Regions from separate parts of the Homo sapiens genome. Here region 1 is linked to region 2. The links are contacts of gene promoters, found by promoter capture Hi-C in human tissues and cell types (Jung and others, 2019). All regions are on one chromosome and are shown on one strand. The core of a region is centred on a gene start or on the middle of the fragment in contact, and the rest is flanking DNA. Distances in the headings are between cores, read along the strand shown.

Evidence for each region. The method cuts DNA at HindIII sites, captures the fragments that hold promoters and counts their contacts. A contact is called where the count stands out against the background at its distance.
Region 1: a contact is called between a fragment that was not itself captured here and the fragment with the promoter of UQCRB in region 2, in 1 of the 25 tissues and cell types used here (hippocampus).

Annotation. Positions count from the first base shown.
Region 1 is chr8:94,431,577-94,437,681 of GRCh38, reverse strand. All of the region lies in intron 3 of RAD54B (RAD54 homolog B), which reads left to right. It overlaps FSBP (fibrinogen silencer binding protein), which reads left to right and starts at 738. Exons shown (of 2, transcript NM_001256141.2): 1 at 738-1,187; 2 at 5,026-6,105. The coding sequence starts at 814. The coding sequence ends at 5,551. RefSeq lists an enhancer at 2,382-2,882. The HindIII fragment of the contact is 5,994 bases long and covers 1,034-6,105 here.
Region 2 is chr8:96,234,008-96,240,051 of GRCh38, reverse strand. It overlaps UQCRB (ubiquinol-cytochrome c reductase binding protein), which reads left to right and starts at 4,507. Exons shown (of 4, transcript NM_006294.5): 1 at 4,507-4,540. The coding sequence starts at 4,522. It overlaps UQCRB-AS1 (UQCRB antisense RNA 1), which reads right to left and starts at 4,759. Exons shown (of 2, transcript NR_183275.1): 1 at 4,491-4,759; 2 at 856-2,145. MTERF3 (mitochondrial transcription termination factor 3) reads left to right here. Exons shown (of 8, transcript NM_015942.5): 8 at 367-650. The coding sequence ends at 561. RefSeq lists an enhancer at 4,501-4,780. The HindIII fragment of the contact is 10,908 bases long and covers 932-6,044 here.

The DNA.
Region 1 (6,105 bases), core at 2,781-5,280, 1.8 Mb after region 2:
TACACATGATAAGGCAGGCTAGCAAATTCACATACATTACGGCTAGAATAATCCATTGCTTTAAAAACATGATTTTTACCTGCTTTTTAGATTGAGTGTTCTATAAAAATTTTTTCTTAAGTGAAAAAAATATGCAGAGGCTAATGTAGACTGTAAAATGAAGGAGAAGCTTAGCTTTACTGTGGAGTCTGGGTCTGGGTGTAACCTAACTAGCTAGAGGATATGCAATTCCTGATTGACAGCAGATCCAGCATTATGCAGATTTTGTAAGGGAGAACACTCAGCTCAGAAACAGTGATGAGAGGCTCTGTTAGGAATTACTACATTCACTACTCATATCTTTTAGTTTTCTGTCTACTGGATTTGTAAATAAATAGCACAAAACAGTTCCTCTTTTGTTTTTATTAAAGTGATACTGCAATGCAGTTCAGTCTGTCAGCTAGGCATACATGTGTGAAATTTGATATTCTCACTAAATTAGCTAATTTTTAGCTGTGTTCCATGCTTATCTCTAGACCTTTGTGTATTAAATCCTGTCTCGAGCTGTTCCCTTTATACACAAGTGTGTTTTGCTTGTGCCTTCCTGTCTTCTTCAGTGAGAAGCTTTATGTAGGTCAGGCTTGGCTTAAGCAGATTTCCTGAACCTGCGTCAGCTTAAGCTGGAGGAATTTTAATAAACCCTCCCCTGTAGGCGTGGGCCTAAATGAGGCTAGCCTAGTTAAGCCTGATCTTTTTCTGTTTGTGAAAAGAGCTGAGCAGAGCTGAAGGCTGCATGGTGGTTTCAGAAACTGCCTACTTAATTTGAAAAGAACAATGGTAGGAAAGGCTAGATCTTCCAATTTTACCTTATCCGAAAAGCTTGATTTGCTAAAGCTTGTGAAGCCATATGTGAAAATTCTCGAAGAACACACTAATAAACATTCAGTAATAGTAGAAAAGAATAGATGTTGGGATATCATAGCAGTTAACTATAATGCAATTGGAGTAGACCGCCCTCCTCGAACAGCACAGGGCCTACGCACCCTTTATAAAAGGCTCAAAGAATATGCCAAACAGGAGCTATTGCAGCAAAAAGAGACCCAATCAGATTTTAAAAGCAATATTTCTGAGCCAACCAAGAAAGTTATGGAGATGATTCCCCAGATTTCCAGTTTTTGCCTGGTAAGAGACAGGAACCACATACAAAGGTAAGCTTTATTTTGTTTTGTTATGGAAAATTATGGCGCCTCCTATCTATTGGGCTTTGGCTTAGTCGTGATAGAGATATGCATAGTAAGCATCCCCACAACGGGAGCAATGAATAGTGTCTTTGTTTTGCATTTTTTAAAAAGAGAAAAGTGAGGCTATGAGGAATTTTTCTGTTGCATTTAAGCTACTTTTTACTGTCTTCCCCTCCCCCTTCCCTCCTGTAGTTTCTAAAAGTAAAGGTTAGGGAGGAATAAGTGGGTTGAAATTTGTGACATCACTTCATAAACTTCTTAAGCTTTAAAATTAAATTATTTAGTTTGCTTCTGAGAGATACTTTTTTTCTCATTTAAGATTACATTTCACTGGAATTTTCAATTTTATATAAAATTTATATAAAGTTAGCAGTTTCTAGAGAAATGGAACCTTGCTTTTTTATGAATTGTCATTGTCTACACTTATTGAATATATGTTAACTAACAAATATAAACAAAATCAATAAGTAAACTTGTTAATGGCATGATTGTGTATATGAAGACAGTTTAAATTATTTTTCTAACACGTTTAAAATAAAGATGAACACAACTAAAGGGAGTTAATGCCTAATTAGGGATTCAGTTTACTTAATAAAATTAAAAGTTTTTTGTTGTTGTTGTTTTTATTCCTTAATAGTCTAGTTTCACTTTGATCTTGGGTCGTATAGGAAAGAGTAAGCTTTCTCTTACTGCTTTGCAAGGATATCAAATTATGAATTTTAAAATACCCCTAAGAGCAACTGGGTTTTTTTAGAGTTAGAAGCAATTTTTTGGTTAAACTTGTCTTCTATGTAACTATTTGCCTTGGAATTTTCAAAAGTATTATCTTGCCACTAATTCAGATTGTAACCTCTGGCAAAATATAAAAATGGCAGCTACATTCTTATTCTGAACCATTTAGGGTAATTTAAACAAATTGTAAACTCCTTGTTAGTTTGAGGAGCCTTTCAAACAAAGCTTTACACAATGTGCTTTTCTATTGGTGGAAGAGGCATTATATAAGCAAATTATTGATTACTATGAAATCCCTTTGAAATTAGGAGAGAAGCAGAAAAAAACCACTTTGTAGCCAAGTGCATATGTTATTTTGGTAATTTACTAGGAAAGTATTTTTGAGCCTAGCTTCTTACCAGATACTGCTTATTTCTACTTGATAGCACAGTAAAAAAAATATCACCAGTGGGAATCCAGGACATGAATACACAGTGGATTAATTCTTGGGGCCACTGGTTAAAATGTTCACTGTGATGACAAATGATGAAATCCCAATAGCTAGATATCCAGAAAACTACGCAGTAAAATTGTTTTATACTGTGCTACTTATGCAGAATTTTCTCTCCCTTGAACCATGGAGAAAAGTGTTTTTTGCATCGCAGGTATAAAACTGTACCCTTTGGTTAGTAGGTATAGGTTTTTATAATTTGAAAACGACATGTAGAAACTGTAATTTTAGTTAGTTGCATATTTTAAAAATAACAGTGAGTAGAAGAAAAATAATATATAAATATACAAGTATCTGGTTACATTTTGACTATTTGTGTGTGTGAATATTTACAATATTCACACACAAAAAATCTTTTGGGATATGAACATTTCTCTGATAAAAATGAGTTGATTTGTACATTTCTATACCTATGGCTTAAATAATACCAATTTGTTAGGTTTTAAAGGGAAGAATATAAGAAACATGCCTTTTAAATTCTTATGTTACTGTGTCTACATTGACATTTTCTCTGTATTAGCTTATTTCTTTAATATATATATTTAATGTGCTTATATTTATTTGATTGATATCATCCTTGAATCTTAATAATCTCAGAAGTTTATAATTATTCTATAATCTTAACTATACTTCTACATAAATATGCCTGTTAATCTTACCAAACTCTTCCTTTTTAATAAGGAAAATACTAGTGTTTGCGTTAACATACTTAAAAATATATACCTGTTTTGTAAGGCTATTTATTTTCTGTAACTCACATTGACTTATGTCTTTATTTTTACCTCTTCCTAATATCAGTTTATATTTTGTGTTTTTGTAAACTGATCTTCAAAGTTCTGATTCTCAAGTCCTTCTCTGTCATTTTTGTGACCTGCTCTAAAGCTTTTTTTCTCCCTTTTTATATTGTTATGCCTTAGTTGTAATGTTTTAGCTAAAATGGAAAGGAATGTTCCAGATATGAGGCATATTTTTAATTTACTTGGTAGTATTATGTCTATGTTTATACTCTCTATTTTACATACTAATTTGAAATAGTAATTATGTGGTTTTAAAAACTTAATTTTCATATGCAATTTTAGCCTTTTCCCATTCCAGGTTTTAGCAGAGCTATTAATAGAAGCAGAGCTTGCTACTTTGAATTACATTTATAATTAATTGTTTTGTTTTTGGAAATAATAAAATGACACAAACAGAGACAAGAACAAAAATGAATTTATATAACCTACAAATAGATTTTTTATTATATACTATATATGTTTCATTTTGTCTCTTAGATAAATATCTGATATTTCTGGCAATTTAATGGCATTAGTAAGTAACGTATGGGTAGTTTTAATCTTTTTCTATGCATTCTGCTTGAACTTGTTCCAGCATTTTAATCATCCATGTAGAATGTATTCTTTTAATTATGTTTCTTATTATATGTAAAATCTTCTCTAAATAATATTAAATAAAGTATTTCCATTCATGTTCAATGATCTAATTTCCCTTTATAACTTTTATTTTTAAGTTAGGCAGAAGCATAAATTAAAAAAAACAACCTCAAGGAGCAGATATTCTTAATTCACAGCTTCACGTTATACATAAAATTATGTTTATAAAACAGAATTTTAAGGTTTATTGCATTTATAATATCATAACTTGTTATGCTGAAGCTTAAATTATGCTAAAGCTGTAGTTGTCTCCATTGGGAATGCATATTTGGTGGAAATTATGTGTAAATTTAATAAACCTTTAATATATCTGTATAGGCCATTAAAAATGTTTCATTAAAAAATCATTTAGTTTGTTTTTTTTCAGTCATTCAACACATAATGAGCACCTACTAGGTTCTAAGTACAGTACCTGCTAGGTACTGAGTATACAGTTGTGGATTAAAACCATTGCTCTTGTGAACTTTACCTGACCAGTGATTGAAAGACTTAAACAGCATCTGAGTCATATGGTTCAGAATAGGTAAAACGGAAGTTTTTCCTATCAGATAAAAGCATCTGAAATAAGAAAGTTAGGATAACCTCCAGTAGTTGAGCATATCCCAAAGCCATATACAATCTTTATGTTTTATTTTTTGGGCAAATGCAGAAATCAGTACCTCCCATAGATGGCCTTTCACTGTCCTTTTATAAGTTATGGGCCTTCATGGTTTTAAGATCAGTCCAGGAGAGCAGAAGCCTGAGGTCTAGGGCTAAGGTATGGGGATAACAAGACTGAGAATGCATTAAATGGCTCTGTACACCATTTGAAAACCTTAGGGTTGTGGGAAAGATTGGTGTCTGTTTGACAACATGAAAACTGGCTTTTCTTTTTATTTTCTTCATTGGCCTTCTATAATATTTGTAATTTCCTGCTCCTTTAAAGCACAATTTTAAAGTTAAGGATGGGGGAGATCTGTGAGTATGTATTATTGAAATCCCAATCTTAGTCACTTTAATGTATTTCAAGTGTTTAAGATTTTTTTTTATTTTGTAACTTTATAGTTTTAAAGCTTTATCATTTAATGTACATTAAATTAAAATTATGCTATAAATATACACTTTTTCTTCATTTGATTTACATATTATAATGCTTTTTTGTGTGCTATAGTGCAAACTTGGATGAGGAGGCACAGGCTGGTACCAGTTCACTACAGGTAATGTTGGATCACCATCCTGTTGCTATTACAGTGGAGGTGAAGCAAGAAGAAGACATTAAACCACCTCCTCCACTGGTTTTAAATTCTCAACAGAGTGATACTTTAGAGCAAAGAGAAGAACATGAATTAGTACATGTTATGGAAAGATCCTTGTCGCCTTCACTTTCCTCTGTTGATATGAGAATGACATCGTCTCCATCTTCTATTCCAAGGAGAGATGATTTTTTTCGGCATGAGAGTGGTGAACACTTTAGGTCACTATTAGGGTATGATCCTCAGATCCTGCAAATGTTGAAAGAGGAGCATCAGATAATTTTAGAAAATCAAAAAAATTTTGGATTGTATGTTCAGGAGAAGAGGGATGGATTGAAAAGAAGGCAGCAGCTAGAGGAAGAGCTACTAAGAGCAAAAATTGAAGTGGAGAAGCTGAAAGCAATTCGCTTACGGCATGATCTACCTGAATATAACAGTCTCTAAGTTTTTTTTTCAATCTTGCAATTTGATAATTTTGATTTTGGCCAAATTACTTTAATTTGGGAATATCCTGAAACAGAATACACGTTCTTGAAAAATGTTGTTAATCTCTATTATGGAAAAACTTTTTAGATATAATTTTCTAATTATTTTCTTTTGAGATATTAAAATTTACTGGTTGGTTGGCATGGTTATAGTTTTTATTGTCTTCTTTTTTTTTTCCCTAAGTTTAATTGTTGACCTTACAAAAGATATTTTATTCTGATCACTAAGATATACACAAATGCATATACAAACACATATTCTTTCAAAGTTCTGAGTCTTCAACATTTTTAGTTAGAACTTTGAAAGCTATAATTAGAGATTTTTAAGTCAGTCTAATTTAGGAGCTATACTAACCTAATACCAAGAAGCTTGTCTGTATGACATTGGTTTTTATGCTTTTATCTTTTGAAGGAGTAAATCCTAGGATTTTAGAGATGGAAGATATTTGGAGAACACTTTTTTTCCATCTCTGCAGTTTAGGGGTAATGAAACAGGTCCAGGGAGAACTCAAT
Region 2 (6,044 bases), core at 3,258-5,757:
TGTCTTGAATTCCTGACCTCAGATGATCCGCCTGCCTCAGCCTCACTAAAGGCGTGAGCCACCACGCCCGGCCGAAGATTTGCTTTTTTAACACATTCTCCTCTGTCTCTGGAGCACTCAATCTTCTTTGCACACAGTATAGCCCTGAATTATTTTATTATTGTTTTGTATGTTGATTTTGAATCCCTTTTTCTAGTTTCTTCACAGAAAATATAGGATTTAAATCCTCTGGCATTTATCCTACTTACTGAACACATGGTCAGTACTTGGTATTGGTTAACCTATTAAAATTTTTGCCAAGTAAACTTTTTAATATTTCATCCTCCCGTGTGCAGTGTTTTTTAAAAACTTTTTTTTCTTTTCTAGGTATTTAATACAAGGCTGTTTAAGGTCAAAGAAAGACACTTGTTTCTTACCTATTTAGGAAGAGCACAGTATGATCCAGCAAAACCTAACTACATCTCTTTGGACAAACTAGTATCTATTCCTGATGAAATATTTTGTGAAGAGATTGCCAAAGCATCAGTACAGGACTTTGAAAAATTCTTAAAAACGCTTTAGATTTTTATGTATGTTAAAATGCAGTATTGTAAAGTGAATATATATATGAATAAATGAATATATTTTTAAATGCCTCGGGTCTCAACTGATATTGGAAACCATTTGATACTGTAAATTTGGGTACATATACTGTGGTAGAACTTTCATCAAGTTCCTAGTGACTTAATTCTTGTTTGACTTTTTCCTTCCTTCTTAGGAAATACAGCAAGCTCAGAGAAGGGGAAAGAGTTGGTTTACTTTAAGTTGGTGCTTTGTCATTCTCGTGAAGATGAAAACAGTGGAGGATTTTTAAAGTGGTTTCATTATAAAATGGCTTTATTTCCTTTGAACTGTTACGAGTTTCCAGAGCATACTACATTAGTCATCTAATATCTACTGCTCAGATAATGCTACAAAACACACTTCATTTTGGATTATCTACATTGTTAACTTCTTGAACACAGATATTCACAGTTGGCTAAGAATAAGGAAAAGGAAAGTGGAGTTTAAAGATTAGGGGCAATGAGATATAGTGAAAGGCTTAACTAGCCTTTGACTTATTACCAGTAAACAAATATTTGTTTTCCATTTACAACATGTGTTATCCTGGGCAAGTGATTTCATTTCTGAGCCTTTGCTTTTTTATTTGTAAAACGAAGCATCATGACTTCAGTTGTCTGCCTTATGATCACCAGATTGGGTAGACTGTTAACACTGGGGGCCCCCATGAACCATACCTGGTATTTGCACTCTTGTGTAGTTAGTCCTCTCCCACACTGACTCTGGGCCGATGTGATTTGGCCCAGAGGACATTTGTCAAGCAGAGGCTTAAGGATTTGCACATCAGGGCTTGCCCTCTTGGAACATTTGCTCTTGGCACCCTAAGCTACTGTGTAGAGAGGTCTGGTTACTCTGCTGGAGAAACTAGGTGGACAGAAAGATGTCTGGCCAAACCCAGCTTTTTCAGACATGCCAACTGAGCACCAGACATGCATGAAGAAATTATCTGGGATGTCCCAGACTTAGTAGATACTACACTAAGCAGAACGACCCAGCGGAATTCAGAATTGGGAGAAAGTGTTTTAAGCCGCTAACTTTGGGGGTAGTTTGTTGTGCACAGGGTTCTGTGGTGTGCTGGATGCCCTTTAAAAAACCTCATGAAAAACTAAATTTGTAATTGGTCAGGGCCAGGTATAGTGGCCTTCCTGTTACATATTTTATTCATGCAACCGACATTTGAGTTCTATAATACAGTGGTGAGTGTGGCATAGATATGTGCTTTCATGGAGTTCTCCAATGGATGAGATCAATAAACAGGAAACAATAAAAAATAAGCTGGGGACACCATGGAACCATCCTGTCCTCTCTTTCTGTGGCTCACAACCTCATTTTGCCTTTATGAATAACCCAGTGAACAACCTTAGCAGTCAGAATAGGCAAGTTGTGTTGATACAATGAACAATCCTAAAACCTCAAATGATTGAAAAACCACAAAAGTTTTTATCTTATACATGTTTCTTAGGACCACAAAGGCTCTGCTCCACATCATCTTCAGTGATACAGGTTGATGTATCCTGTCTCCATCATTTCTGGAGTGTTGCCAGTCTATGGAAAAGGAAAGGAATGTGAAGAATTGCTCTTAAAAAGTTATCACATTTTTCTTGGCCAAAGTATCACATGGCCATGCCTAACTTTAATAGGGCAGAGAGGCAATCCCTAATCCTGTGCTGGGAGGAAAGAAAACCAAAAATAGTTTTTGAATCAACAATCACTACCAGCAAACATTCAGTCTCTCTAGCTTAATTCCTTAGGAGCTGGATTTTGTGACAATTTTGGGTTTCAGATCTTTTGATATGTCTTTTCTTGCCACCTTCACCTGTAACCAGCAAGCTAAAACTTAAAGGGTGGAAGGGAGGAGAGTTTATTGAGTACCTACCCTCTGCAGGGCAATGTGCCAATGTACAAATGTACTGCATTTCTTCACATCTTTCAGACTTCACTTTGGCTAGTGTAAGATAGATCATTCATCAGCTTTAGTGCTGTATACAGGACTGACTAATGAAGAAATTGTGACAGCATGGAGATAGAAGAAAAAGGAAAATCAATATAATTTTAGAACTGGAATGTGACTAAGATCGTTAAATCTAACCTTTTGAACTTAGGATGAGACAAGGTTCTACTCTATATTGTCCCAGCTCTGAGCTTAAAACTGAGGGGAAAAAAAAGATATCACTGAGTAATGGTAGAAGTTCACCAGTAACTATCAGTCATGCTAGCTCCCCCTAATTGTTTTCTGTCTCTAGATGTTTATGCCTAAGACTTCGCATGTTGGGGTTGAGACCTTAAAAGTGAGAAAATCTATATACTTCTCTTTTGTCTTAAAATTGTGTGCAAATTCTGCAATACATCTTAGATTTAATCTTTAAAAACCTTTTCTGCTGGGCATGATGGCTCACGCGGGTAACCCAGCATTTTGGGAGGCTGACGTGGGTGGATCACTTGAGGTCAAGAGTTTGATACCAGCCTGGCCAACACGGTGAAACCCCGTCTCTACTAAAAATACAAAAATTAGCGGGCATGGTAGTGTGTACACCTGTAGTCCCAGCTACTCAGGAGGCTGAGGCACGAGTCATTTGAACCCAGGAGGCAGAGGTTGCAGTGAGCCGAGATTGTGCCATTCAGCCTGGGTGACAGAGGCTGAACAACAAAAAAAAGGGTGAAAAAAAACAAACAAAAAAAACCCAAAACCTTTTCTGACCTAACCTTCCACTAAAATAGCTAGATATAGATCTTCAGCTGGAGAAACCCAAGGCCTGAAAGGCTTGGTGTCTTTCCTGGATTAGTAGTGTAGCAGTATAGCATATGACCCTAGAATTAAGGAGCCCCAAATTTGCATCTGGATTTTCAGATTCTGGAAGAAGAACCTGGACTCTTCTAGTCATGTGCTCTTGGACAAGTTATTCAACCTTTCTGAGCCTCAGCTTTCTCCTCTCTACAATGAGATAATTACAGTACTTTTAGAATTAAAAGATAGTTTAGGGGAGTGAGAGATCACCTCCAACCCTCCCTCCCCTTTGCTCTTATGTGGGCTCTTTGGTTGAATCTAGGAACCAAATTGACACATGGCAGATTAACAAGAGAAAAGCATACTAATTTTACTAGTTTTACATGTACATGGGGATCCGCACAAAAGAGTGAAGTGGCCAATGTAAGATGCCTTTATACTTTTTACACGAACTACAAATCAGAAGAAAGGGGATCTGGCTAGGGGCAGTAAATTTCTCGCGGAGTCATTAGGAGAAAAGTGTGTGTGTTGGGGTGTAAACTTAGTGGAAGATAACGGTTACTTCGGAAAGTATATTCAGGTCCAAAGCAGCCCCCAGTTTCGTCTCTGGTGATAGGTGCTATTTTCTCCCTCTGGTAAGGGACGGGTACTCCAGAGGAATCCTGGAGGAAGCTTTATGGCTTGCTGCATGCAGGAAGAGATAGGTCATCAAACCTTTTCTGAAACTACAATTTCTCCAATATTTTCAACTCGAAATAATCAATGTACCAATTCCATATATTTTTGGGATGGCACATCCATCAGTCCTTCAATAGAAAGTAAGACGATGCCCTTAAAACATTTAGCTTCCTGCCTGGCACAAAGAGCTGAATTAATACTGTCCACGCTCCCATAGCTATTAACAGCAAATAACAGAACCCAGCTTTAAGCCTTGGTCTCCTAATTCCTGACCTGTGTTCTTCCCATCACATCACAACCAATACTTCTTAGAATGTAGCACGCAAAATGCCCCGCCTACTCCATTGGCCTCACCCTGGCCGAGAGGTGCTTACGCAGGTGCTGAACGGCAGTCGTCAGAACTGCGCCTGCGCAAGCGGCCTTTCTCTGTTCGCGATGTGACGTAACGCGCCTGCGGACTGGGCCCAGCTTGTCCTCTATGACTTACCCAGAAGGCAACGCTTCTCTTTCTGGTCAAAATGGCTGGTAAGCAGGCCGGTAAGTAACTGGGGGTCTTCTTGGCCGGCATCGTCGCGCTTCACCGTTTATTTTTGCTGCAGCTTGCTCCGTTTTCTCTCTTCTTTGTAAGTGGCCAAGTTTGTCGCGGAAGGGAAATTGGCTGCTTCAGTCCAGTGAAAAGGATGTGCTTCCCCACTCGTTTGCTGTCCCCAGGGCGGGCTTGCCTGTATAGGGTTGGGATGTTAACCCGCTGTTTGTGAAGGTGCCCGCGGTGGCTCTGACAGCCCTGGAGTTCCAGCTGCCCGTGCTTGGAAGTCCTTCCCCTTGGCCTTAGAAAAGTTAAAGGGCACAAGAGGATAACTAGTGGATGACTTTCAACCCGAATGAGCTCAGTGCTTTCTATGACCCAAGTGCTCTATCGTGTGCATTGGCCCTATAAATTTTCTTGCCATTGCGACGAGGGAGATATTAATTTCCCTTTTACGCTGATAAGATAACTGAGGCAAAGTGACCCAAGGAAGTAGAATTGGAAATATCATTGCACCCCTCGCGCTTCTCAAACTGCGAATCAGAGACAGTTGAGCAAGGGATACGAGCGACGCTTCAGGTTGACCTTGGATTATCTAGAGCGTCAGCTTGATCAGTAGGTTTGGAGAAATTTGAATTTATTGTAGGTTCTTTTTTTCTTTTTTCTTTCTTTTTTTTTTTTTTTGCTAATCTCTGCCCTCTGGCGGTACAAGTTGGAGTAGCCGTTTTGTTTGTTTGTTTGTTTTGTCTTTGAGACGGAGTCTTGCTTTGTCGCCCAGGCTGGAGTGCAATGGCACAATCTCGTCTCACTGCAATGCAACCAAGTTGGAGTAGCTTAAAAAATGTTGATCCTTTTCTCCCCGCCCCCAGCAATTGTGAAGCTGTTAGGAAACATCAGGTTGCCAGAAACATCCGTTAACCTAATTGACATTGAGCTTTTTGGGGGTGGGGGAGACTTTTTAAATAATTATTTTATTAATTTGGCAGATATTGAAGGAGTCTTACTAAATTCAAGACACTGCTTCTGTGCGTGTTTGGGAACTACATAGACCAGATCTCAACTCCCATTAGCTAACTCTGACCTTGGGTGGGATCACTTCTGTAAGCCAGCTTCCCCTTCTGTAGTAACAGACATGTAAATAAATCAGCTAATGTTGGTAAAGCAAATAGGAAAGTGTTTGGTGCACAATAAGTGCTTAGTGAATATTATTATAGTCACTGATAGGTGGTTGAATATAATCTGTCTTCCACAAGTATGTTTGTAGATTGTTGACTGATACTTGTTTTTCTAGCAGCAGTTTTATACATGACTCTTAATTTCCAAGGAGATTTGCTAAAGCCACGTAATCTGTAGTGCACTGAGTTTGCAAGCAAGGAGAGTTGAGTGAAAGGAGAGTTTGCTTTCCTTCCTTGGTAAGGGCTAACCCTAGACAAAATTTTAAAAGAGAATACAAACCTGTTCTACCTCTCCTTTTGTAAAATGTCTCTCCTAAAATGTCAGATACGGTCCTGCTGT